3 separate regions of the Homo sapiens genome follow, and all the other regions are linked to region 1. Evidence: promoter capture Hi-C in 16 types of primary human blood cells and fetal thymus (Javierre and others, 2016). All regions are on one chromosome and are shown on one strand. Each heading gives the region's core, a stretch centred on a gene start or on the middle of the fragment in contact. The rest is flanking DNA. Distances are from core to core; before and after follow the strand shown. Region 1 holds the start of ASB14 (ankyrin repeat and SOCS box containing 14). Region 2 overlaps IL17RD (interleukin 17 receptor D). Region 3 overlaps DNAH12 (dynein axonemal heavy chain 12).

Region 1 (2,859 bases), core at 9-2,508:
GTTGTCCAACAAAACTCTGAATCTACACTTTCAGAAGCCTTGTTCAAGTTTATGTAATTCCTCCTTTTGATTTGAGTAGATCAAAGACTGGACCCCATCCCCACCTACCCTACTAAGGTTGAAGATAACTAACTTTCTATGTGTCCCGGTTGGATTTATGCATTTCTTCAATTCCCAAAGACAAGATGTATTAGTTTTTCTCTAGCCCTTCATATCCTCCTTTCTTTCTTCTGATTTCCAGTCTGTATCACCTCACCCAGATTTGCTGCTAACCTCCTTCAGATATTTTTATTGCCTAATTAAATTCTGAATTATTTCCAGATTATTCCTGTCTAGTTAGGCATAATATCTTACAGATATTTAATTGACAGCTCCTTGGATTCTGACCCTCCTGTTTTTGTCACAACACTAGAGTTAAGCTAATGACAAGTGTCAGCTGTTGAATACAACACTTAATACTATATTGCCGATGAGAAAACCATTACCTCTCATCCTTAGGTGCATGTTGTGCTGTTCCTGGCTTATAAATATCCTGCAAACTCTGTTGAATGATGAGCTGGGTGTCAAAGTCTTCATCTATGTCTTCATCGCTGGTGTAATTATCCATGTGAAACGTGGACAGGTTTACTTTAAAGTCAGAGTGAATTAAAAGTATTTTTCCAGTTGTGAAGAGATCAACTGCTTAAAATTACAAATGAAATTCAGAAATCTAGAAAATTGGTAGGATTAACAATGAAAAATATACAAAATTTAGGAAACAAAATATTCACTAAAAAATTTCTATAAACTTAAAAAAGTTTTGTGGACTGCCACAGATTCAACAAAAATTAGAAGTTTCCATGAGTAGCCATTGACTTAAAGCTTATTCAGGAAAAACCACCTTTCAAATAAGACTTCGGTTAGTGCCACTCTAACACTGACAACACTCTGATCTGTTCAACTTGGCTGTGAGTCTTTCACAGTGATTGTAGCACTCATCCAAAATAATATCTTTCCTACACACAGTGTGATGCTGAAAATAATATTTTACTTAATATACATTAAAAATAAACATGTTATAGGAACAAATGTATTCTCATAATTACAACATGGATACAGCAGTAGTAAAAACAAATGTATCTTACTAGGCAATATCTAAATGGTTTTAAAAGAAAAATGTCAGTTTTAGCATAGAATACATTTGGTCACATTTCAAAGACTTTTTACCTTTTGTTTTATCCTCTAGGACAGCAGTGAAGTTTTCACTGTTAAGGACTAACACATGTAAGCCTCAGAATTTTCATTTATATTTAGGCTCTCCTCTCCCCTGTAGTGACCATTCCATTAATAGCTTTACTATAAATACTTCATCATAAGACAGTTTGGCACATTCTCCTTGTTTTTTACATGTGGTTTAGCTCTTTTTGGAAACATGATCTCTTTTCTTCAGTGCTACATTCATCAAATTTAAAGGATTAAATATTTTATTCCTGGAATAAAATGCTTTTGCAGGGGGTTGGCCATGCAAAGAGAATTCATGCACATAGCCACTGCAAACCACAATCAATTTTTCACTTAAGAGAACCCAAACATTTTGCTCTGACCCAATTATCCAAAGTGACTGTCCCAATGTACTAGATTCACTAGGTAGCTGTGACTACATTTTCCTTGGGTTACAGAACTGTGGCCTTCAGTGTCCTTGGAATCCTAAGGGAAGAATTCACTCTACACAAGATAAAATTTTGATCAAAATTCTGTTTTGTTGAAATATTTTTAAATTGTTAATATACACTAAAAAAAGCAAAGGGACCACTTGACATTTCAAATTAAATATGAAGCAAATGCCGAGAAGCACACTGTCACTGCAGGTGTAGAAGTTCGGACTGCCCTCAAGCCATCCTACTGCCTTTGCAGGCCAACTTCGCAGCTTTGAGTTTCCTTTCCTAGTCACAAGGATGCAGTGAGAAATGGAACCGATGTCTTAGAGGTAAGAAATAAAGAGGTATAGTTGGGTAACTTTTAATATTTTCCATATTTATAATTTCTTAATTTATGTATTTGAAATATTTATGTATAATTACTTTAGGTAGGAGAGTGGAAAGTAAACTATACTGAAGCTGAAGGAATGACTTAACATTTGTGAAGGAGATAATTCCTGATATTTGTTAAATGTTACCGTTTAACCCCCAAATCTATTTTTCACATACAATCAAACTTCAAAAAGTTCTCCTCAGAAAGGAGAACAATGCAATGAGTGTTTGCAAAGATCATTTAAAAGAATAACACCAAAACACTTGGTTTTATAATGTATATATTTTAAGTAGGACAGGTTTTTTTTTTTTTAAACTTTTGGATGTTTTATAAATTTGTCCAATTTAGTCATCCAACTGACAAAGCAAAGCAACCCCGCGCTTGATCCAGTGCCGAGTAGGTTGGTCTGTTTTTAACAACATTGCAATGACAAAGTTAGTAGAATGTCCCGTAGTGGAAAGAGTTCCTTTACGTTCACTTGTCTTGTAGAGGGGACAGACATAGGCATCCGACTTTATAATCCGAGATTTTTGAGCTTGAAAAAAAAAAAGAAATATATTCACTTGATAAAGGGAAAAACAGCCATTGGTACGAAAAGAACTATTTATCTTGTAATAAAATGGCCAGAACTAAATCTAAGATCATAATTGTGATATATGAAGGTTTTACAGCATATATATTTTTTTACAGTACATATAGTATTACGGTTGTGAAACAAGGCAAGTATTTCTTTTCTTTTCTTTTTTTTTTTTTTTTTGGAGACTGAGTCTCACTCTGTCACCTAGGCTGGAGTACAGTGGCACAATCTCGGCTCACTGCAACCTCTGCCTCCCAGGTTCAAGCGATTCT
Region 2 (2,851 bases), core at 195-2,694, 170 kb before region 1:
ATATGCGGGCAGCCTGGCATTTAATGGGTAATTGTTACACCAAAACAAAATGTGGAGAACACTTCTGATGGAGCCCAGGGTTTTCAGCCACAACCACATGACATCCATATGCCACAGGCATCTTCACGCTGCTTATCCTGAAGCCAGGCACACCCACTGAAAGTGTATCCCTGAACTCAGATATACATGGGCCTTGGGAAAGCACAATTGGGCAGAGAGGGGCACATGGACACACCACCCACCCCCCACTCTAAGGTGAGGAATAAGTAACAGAAAACCTAAATCCACATGACACACCAGCCCACAATCTACTGAAGCTCCCCTTCTTCATAGTTCACCTTCCTTCTCCAGCTTTCCTCCTTCTAGCCTCTCTTCCCCACATATACAAGATTCCAGAACTCCTCACCTGAACTAAAACACTTTGGAAAGTGTTGTGAACTTATTAAAATCCTAAGAGTGTCTACAACTGCTTAGGGACAAGACCACAGTTTGTGCAACTAAAGGCTGCTCAACCTGCAGATGGCAGACACCACAGTAACACAACCAGGTAGGAGACCAGGAACGAGACAATCCAATCCCCCAAGACCAAAGCCCAAGATCCCCAAATCACACTGTTCTGTGCTCTTATAAGCCCCCAAGACATAAACTCACTCCCCATCTATTAGGAGCCAGACATTATGCTAGCTATGCTGGCAAACAAAACAGCCACTGTCCCCGCCCTCATGAAATGAATTAACATGGGGTTCATTATTTCAAAGAAGATTAACTGGGTAGGTAGATTATGTCCTAGGCATGCAGATAAATTTCAAATCACACCCTGGCCCTCCAAGAATGCCCAGTTTAGATGGCAAAACAAGGTATATATAGCAAGGGTGAAAGAGCCTGGCATAAGTAAGTACAGTGTATGAAATGCCACAAGACAGCCCTTGAGTAAGGATGAATGAAGGATGGGTAAGATAACAGATTCCAGAAGCTTAACAAGGAGAAGGATAACTGGGCTAGAATGAAGAGGAAAGCAGAGTAACATCATGGGAGGAAAAGAAAACTATAATCTAGAAGCCAAGGTTAGTACCTCAATCCTCCCATCCTCCACCGGATGCCCGATGGCAAACCACTCTACTCTAGGGGTCCCCAACCCCCGGGCCCTGGACTGGTCCTGGTCCATGGCCTGTTAGGAGCCAGGCCGCGCAGCAGGTGGGCAGTGGGAGAGCATTACCACCTGAGCTCCGACTCCTGTCAGATCAGCAGTGGCACTGGATTCTTATAGGAGCACAAACCCTATTGTGAACTGTGCATACGAGGGATCTAGGCTCTGTGCTCCTTATGAGAATCTAACTAATGCCTGATGATCTGAGGTGGAACAGTCTGATCCCGAAACCATCCCCTACTGACCCCCCAGTGCATGGAAAAATTGTCTTCCACGAAACTAGTCCCTGGTGCTAAAAAGGTTGGGGACCGCTGCTCTACACCACTGGGTCTGGGTCTCCTCAACTGTCTTTTTTTTTTTTTTTTTTTTTAAAGAATTTACATGGCTTTCCTCTAGGAGGTGGTTTTGAGGAAGATCAAATGAAGCCGGGTACAGGAGGGACTTCGCAAAAAGGAAACACATTCCATCTAACAATATGCTCCCTAGTGCATAGGGACCCTGGCGACCAATCACCTTACTTGTCAGATGTAGCTTTTTTTTTTGTTCCAGTTCCCTTATATTTGTTTGTTTGTTTCCTCTTATTCCTATTGCAACATGTTATTTGCAGGTACTTATTGGGCAATGGCCAATGCATTGTGGAAAGGAGCCCAAGACAGTGAGGTGTGCTATGCCATGCATTCAAGAACCTAAATCCCTCCAAATAAAGTCTCTGTGATGTGTGTGGAACTGTTCAGAGGGGGGTCCAGTGAGGCAGGCCTGGAAGGAAAGTGAAGCTTACCTGTGGCATCCATTCACTCTCTGCTGAGCATTCCACCTTGGCCTAAGACTCACAAGGCTGGGCACTCAGCTATGAAGCAGACCCAGGTCTTGACCTCAAGGGGCTCTGGCCACGTGCATATCTGCCCTCGCTCCCCTGCTTTGAGCCCTTCACTGGCTCCCTGTCCCTCCAGATCATTCCTGATGTGACACCTGCCTACCTTCCCAGTCACTCCCTCTTGCACCTTCTAAACCCTTTGGGCACTGCAGTTCTGCTCGGAAAATGTCCTTGGGCATGCCTGCATTCTCAGAATCCCCTCCTCTTCTCTTCCTATCACCCAGGTCCCCTCCCCTGGTGGGCTGCTTGCCGCATCACACTGTGTGTTCCTGACACATCGGTCTGACTGCTACTCACTTGAGGGGAACATGGTAATTCATTCCCACAATTTGAGTAGCATGGCACTTTTAGGGATGTAGATGCAAAATGGTAGTTCCAATTCCACAGAAAATCAGAGATCATAAGACCCCGTGGCCATCCACGCCGGGTCATGGAGCTCAGAAGCAGGAGAAAACATCCCAGGTATTAGTTCTTACATGCATTTTAAAGACCTTTTGGCTGCGCGTGGTGGCTCACACCTGTAATCTCAGCACTTTGGGAGGCCGAGGCAGGTGGATCACCTGAAGTCAGGAGTTTGAGACCAGCCTGACCAACATGGTGAAACCCCATCTCTACTAAAAATACAAAAAATTAACTGGGTGTAATGGCGGGCACCTGTAATCCCAGCTACTTGGGAGGCTGAGGCGGGAGAATCGCTTGAACCCGGGAGGCGGAGGTTGCAGTGAGCCGAGATCGCGCCATCGTACTCCATCCTGGGTGACAAGAACAAAACTCCATCTCAAACAAACAAACAAACAAAAACCTTTCATTCCTGGAATTCCTCAAGTGCA
Region 3 (2,958 bases), core at 392-2,891, 220 kb after region 1:
GAAATGATAGAAAAATTACTATTTGGCAACAACCATAGTAATCATTGTTACAGGCAAAGATGTTAACATTATGGGAACACATAAAGCATACAGGGGAATTCTTTGTACTCTTTTTTGCAACTTTTCCGTATGTCTAAAATTATTTTGAGATAAAAAGATTTTTTAAATGTGTAGCCTAGATGGACATTTTTTCTTTTGTCTCTTACTTTTATTTTTTTTCAATTAGTTGCTCACTCCAAAATTCTTACAGAAAGACATTTTCTATGTCCACTCCATTAATGTACTGCTTAGTCTTTTTTTTTTTTTTTTTTTTTTTTTCTTCAGATGGAGTCTCCCTCCGTCGCCCAGGCTGGAGTGCAATGGCATGATCTTGACTCACTGAAACCTCCACCTCTTGGGTTCAAGTGATGTTCCTGCCTCAGCCTCCTGAGTAGCTGGGATTACAGGCGTGGGCCACCATGCCCGGCTAATTTTTTTCTTTTTAGTAGAGATGGGGTTTCACCATGTTGGTCAGGCTGGTCTCGAACTCCTGACCTTGTGATCCATCCGACTCGGCCTCCCAAAGTGCTGGGATTACAGGCATGAGCCACCATGCCCGGCCCATGTACTGCCTAATCTTAAAATTCTTGTGTGATAGTCCCCAGTCCCTCACTATATCAATGGGCTGACCTCTGTCTAGCAATGAAATTGGTCCTCTCCCTACTCCAGCTCTTCCCTCCTCTCTAGATGATCTTAATAATAAGTGTCGCCAATTACCCTGCAAAATCAGACCAAAGCCTAAGAATCATCCTTGGTTCCTCTTTTTCTCACTGCCCACATGCACCCTACCTGCAAGTCCTGTCGCATTTACATCCAAAATATGTCCTGAATCTAACAATTTCTCTCTAGCTCTATTGCTATCACTCTAGTCTAAACTATTCTCTCTCACCTAGACTGTTATCTTGTACAACTACCTGGTTCTTCCTTTATACTTTTGCCGTAGCCACAATCCATCTTCTAAAGAATCTAAGTGGCCTTTTTCATATAATTGTCAAAGTGACTTTTTATCATTAAAAGTAAATCAAGTTATGTTATCCCCATGGGTAGAATCCTCCAATGACTTCCAATTGCCACTCTGAGTAAAATCCAAGCAACTTATCATAGCCTACAAGGCCCTCATCTCTGGCTCCTGACCCCCTTTTCAAGTTTATTTTATACTTTCCCATGAGCTCAATCAGCAGCTGGCCTTCTTTCAGTTCCTGGAACATACCCAGTTGTTTTCTCCTTCAGGTGACTTAAACTTAGCTGTTCCCTCTGTTGGGAAATTCTCAACCCCAGGTCTTTCCACGGCTGGCTCCTTTCTACCATTCAGGTCTCCATAAATGTCACCACCTCAGGGACGCCTTCTCTAACCACATGCCTAATATGGCCCCACTCCCTCACCAGTCACTATCTACCATATTACCCTGTATTTCCTTCACAGTACTTATCACAATTTTATTTATTAAATGAAATAGAAAAATTTTATTTAATTATTATATGTCTTCCTCATTAAAGTATAAGCTTCATAAGGGCTTATATGTCCATCTTGTCCATCAATCTTCAGCATCTAGCACAGGATCAAGTATGCATAGATATTTGTTAAGAATCTCATGAATAAATAAATTATACAGACAAAGATGATATTTTCTCAATACCCCAAACCTATAGCAGTTCTAGAAAGCAGGTCAGGGTCAAGCACTGAAATATTAGATAGAAAACTAAGCTTGAATAAAATTATTATATGACTATATAGTGAAAGGAAATTTATTGAATGTGGTTTTTGTTGCAGAAAAAAAGAAAGAAAAAATGAAATTTAAATTCATTATTCTAATTATGTATCTATAACTTATACCTTTCTAAAACCATTTCATCTCCTAAAATAAAAATATGTTTGACCCTTAGAATTAAAGTATATAATCTTCCTTAGCAAAACACTATCTAAGTCAAGTGATGTACTTTCAAAATTTTTCTTGAAAACTCCCTGGCCCAGCACGGTGGCTCATGCCTGTAATCCCAGCACTTTGCGAGGTAGAAGCAGGTGGATCCCTTTCAGCTCAGGAGTGAGAGACCAGTCTGGGCAACATGGGGAAACCCCACCTCTACAATAAATAAATAAATAAAAATTATCCAAGCGTGGTGCCTCACATCTGTAGTCCCAGCTCCTCGGGAGGCTGAGGCTAAGAGATTGCTTGAGCCTGGAAAGCAGATGTTGCAGTAAGCCAAGATCACTCCCCTGCACACCAGCCTGGGTGACAGAGTGAGAAACTGTCTCAAAAAACAGAAAACATAAAAAAAAAAACTTTCTATATTATGCCCTCACTGTAGTCTCTTCACACTTCTATTATAACAGCTGTTACATTTTACTGAACATGTGTTTTTATATTTATTCATTCATCAATCATTCATTAAGTAACTATTTTTAGTGCTCGATATCATAGTAGTTGATTAAGAAGCAATTCCTGGCCGGGCACGGTGGCTCACACCTGTAACCCCAGCACTTTGGGAAGCTGAAGCAGGTGGATCACTGGAGGTCAGGAGTTTGAGACCAGCTTGGCCAACATGGTGAAACCCTGTCTCTACTAAAAATATAAAAAATTAGCCAGGCATGGTGGCATGTGCCTGTAATCCCAGCTATTTGGGAGCCTGAGGCACAAGAATTGCTTGAAGCCGGGAGGTGGAGGGTGCAGTGAGCTTAGGTTGCCCCACTGGATTCCAGCCTGGGTGACAGAGCAAGACTACTCTGTCTCAAAAAAAAGAAAAGAAAAGAAAAGAAAGAAAGAAAAGCTGCTGTTGGCTGCTGTGGTCAAGATAAGAGATGAAGCTCTGATCTAAGGCTAGGACAAGAAAATGACTGTTTTGAGAACTATATAGAGCTCTTGGGAACTAAGCATATGGGAGGGAGGTAGTTGGGGAAGGGGAACAAGAAGTTCAGATTCA

Evidence for each region. Contacts are between HindIII fragments. The CHiCAGO score rates a contact against its expected background, and 5 or more counts as called.
Region 2: a fragment that was not itself captured here is called in contact with the fragment with the promoter of ASB14 in region 1 in 1 of 17 cell types (M1 macrophages); the score reaches 5.0 in M1 macrophages.
Region 3: a fragment that was not itself captured here is called in contact with the fragment with the promoter of ASB14 in region 1 in 2 of 17 cell types (M1 macrophages and M2 macrophages); the score reaches 8.8 in M1 macrophages.

Annotation. Positions count from the first base shown.
Region 1 is chr3:57,291,427-57,294,285 of GRCh38, forward strand. It overlaps ASB14 (ankyrin repeat and SOCS box containing 14), which reads right to left and starts at 1,259. Exons shown (of 11, transcript NM_001142733.3): 1 at 1,207-1,259; 2 at 486-678. The coding sequence starts at 607. DNAH12 (dynein axonemal heavy chain 12) reads right to left here. Exons shown (of 74, transcript NM_001366028.2): 74 at 2,274-2,545. The coding sequence ends at 2,355. It overlaps LOC124909384 (a long non-coding RNA gene), which reads left to right and starts at 1,365. Exons shown (of 2, transcript XR_007095923.1): 1 at 1,365-1,966. The HindIII fragment of the contact is 5,614 bases long and covers 860-2,859 here.
Region 2 is chr3:57,121,245-57,124,095 of GRCh38, forward strand. The region is part of intron 1 of IL17RD (interleukin 17 receptor D); the gene reads right to left. Among named protein-coding and RNA genes, the nearest start is that of IL17RD, 43 kb to the right of the region's middle. The HindIII fragment of the contact is 947 bases long and covers 972-1,918 here.
Region 3 is chr3:57,515,761-57,518,718 of GRCh38, forward strand. The region is part of intron 4 of DNAH12 (dynein axonemal heavy chain 12); the gene reads right to left. Among named protein-coding and RNA genes, the nearest start is that of DNAH12, 27 kb to the right of the region's middle. The HindIII fragment of the contact is 202 bases long and covers 1,541-1,742 here.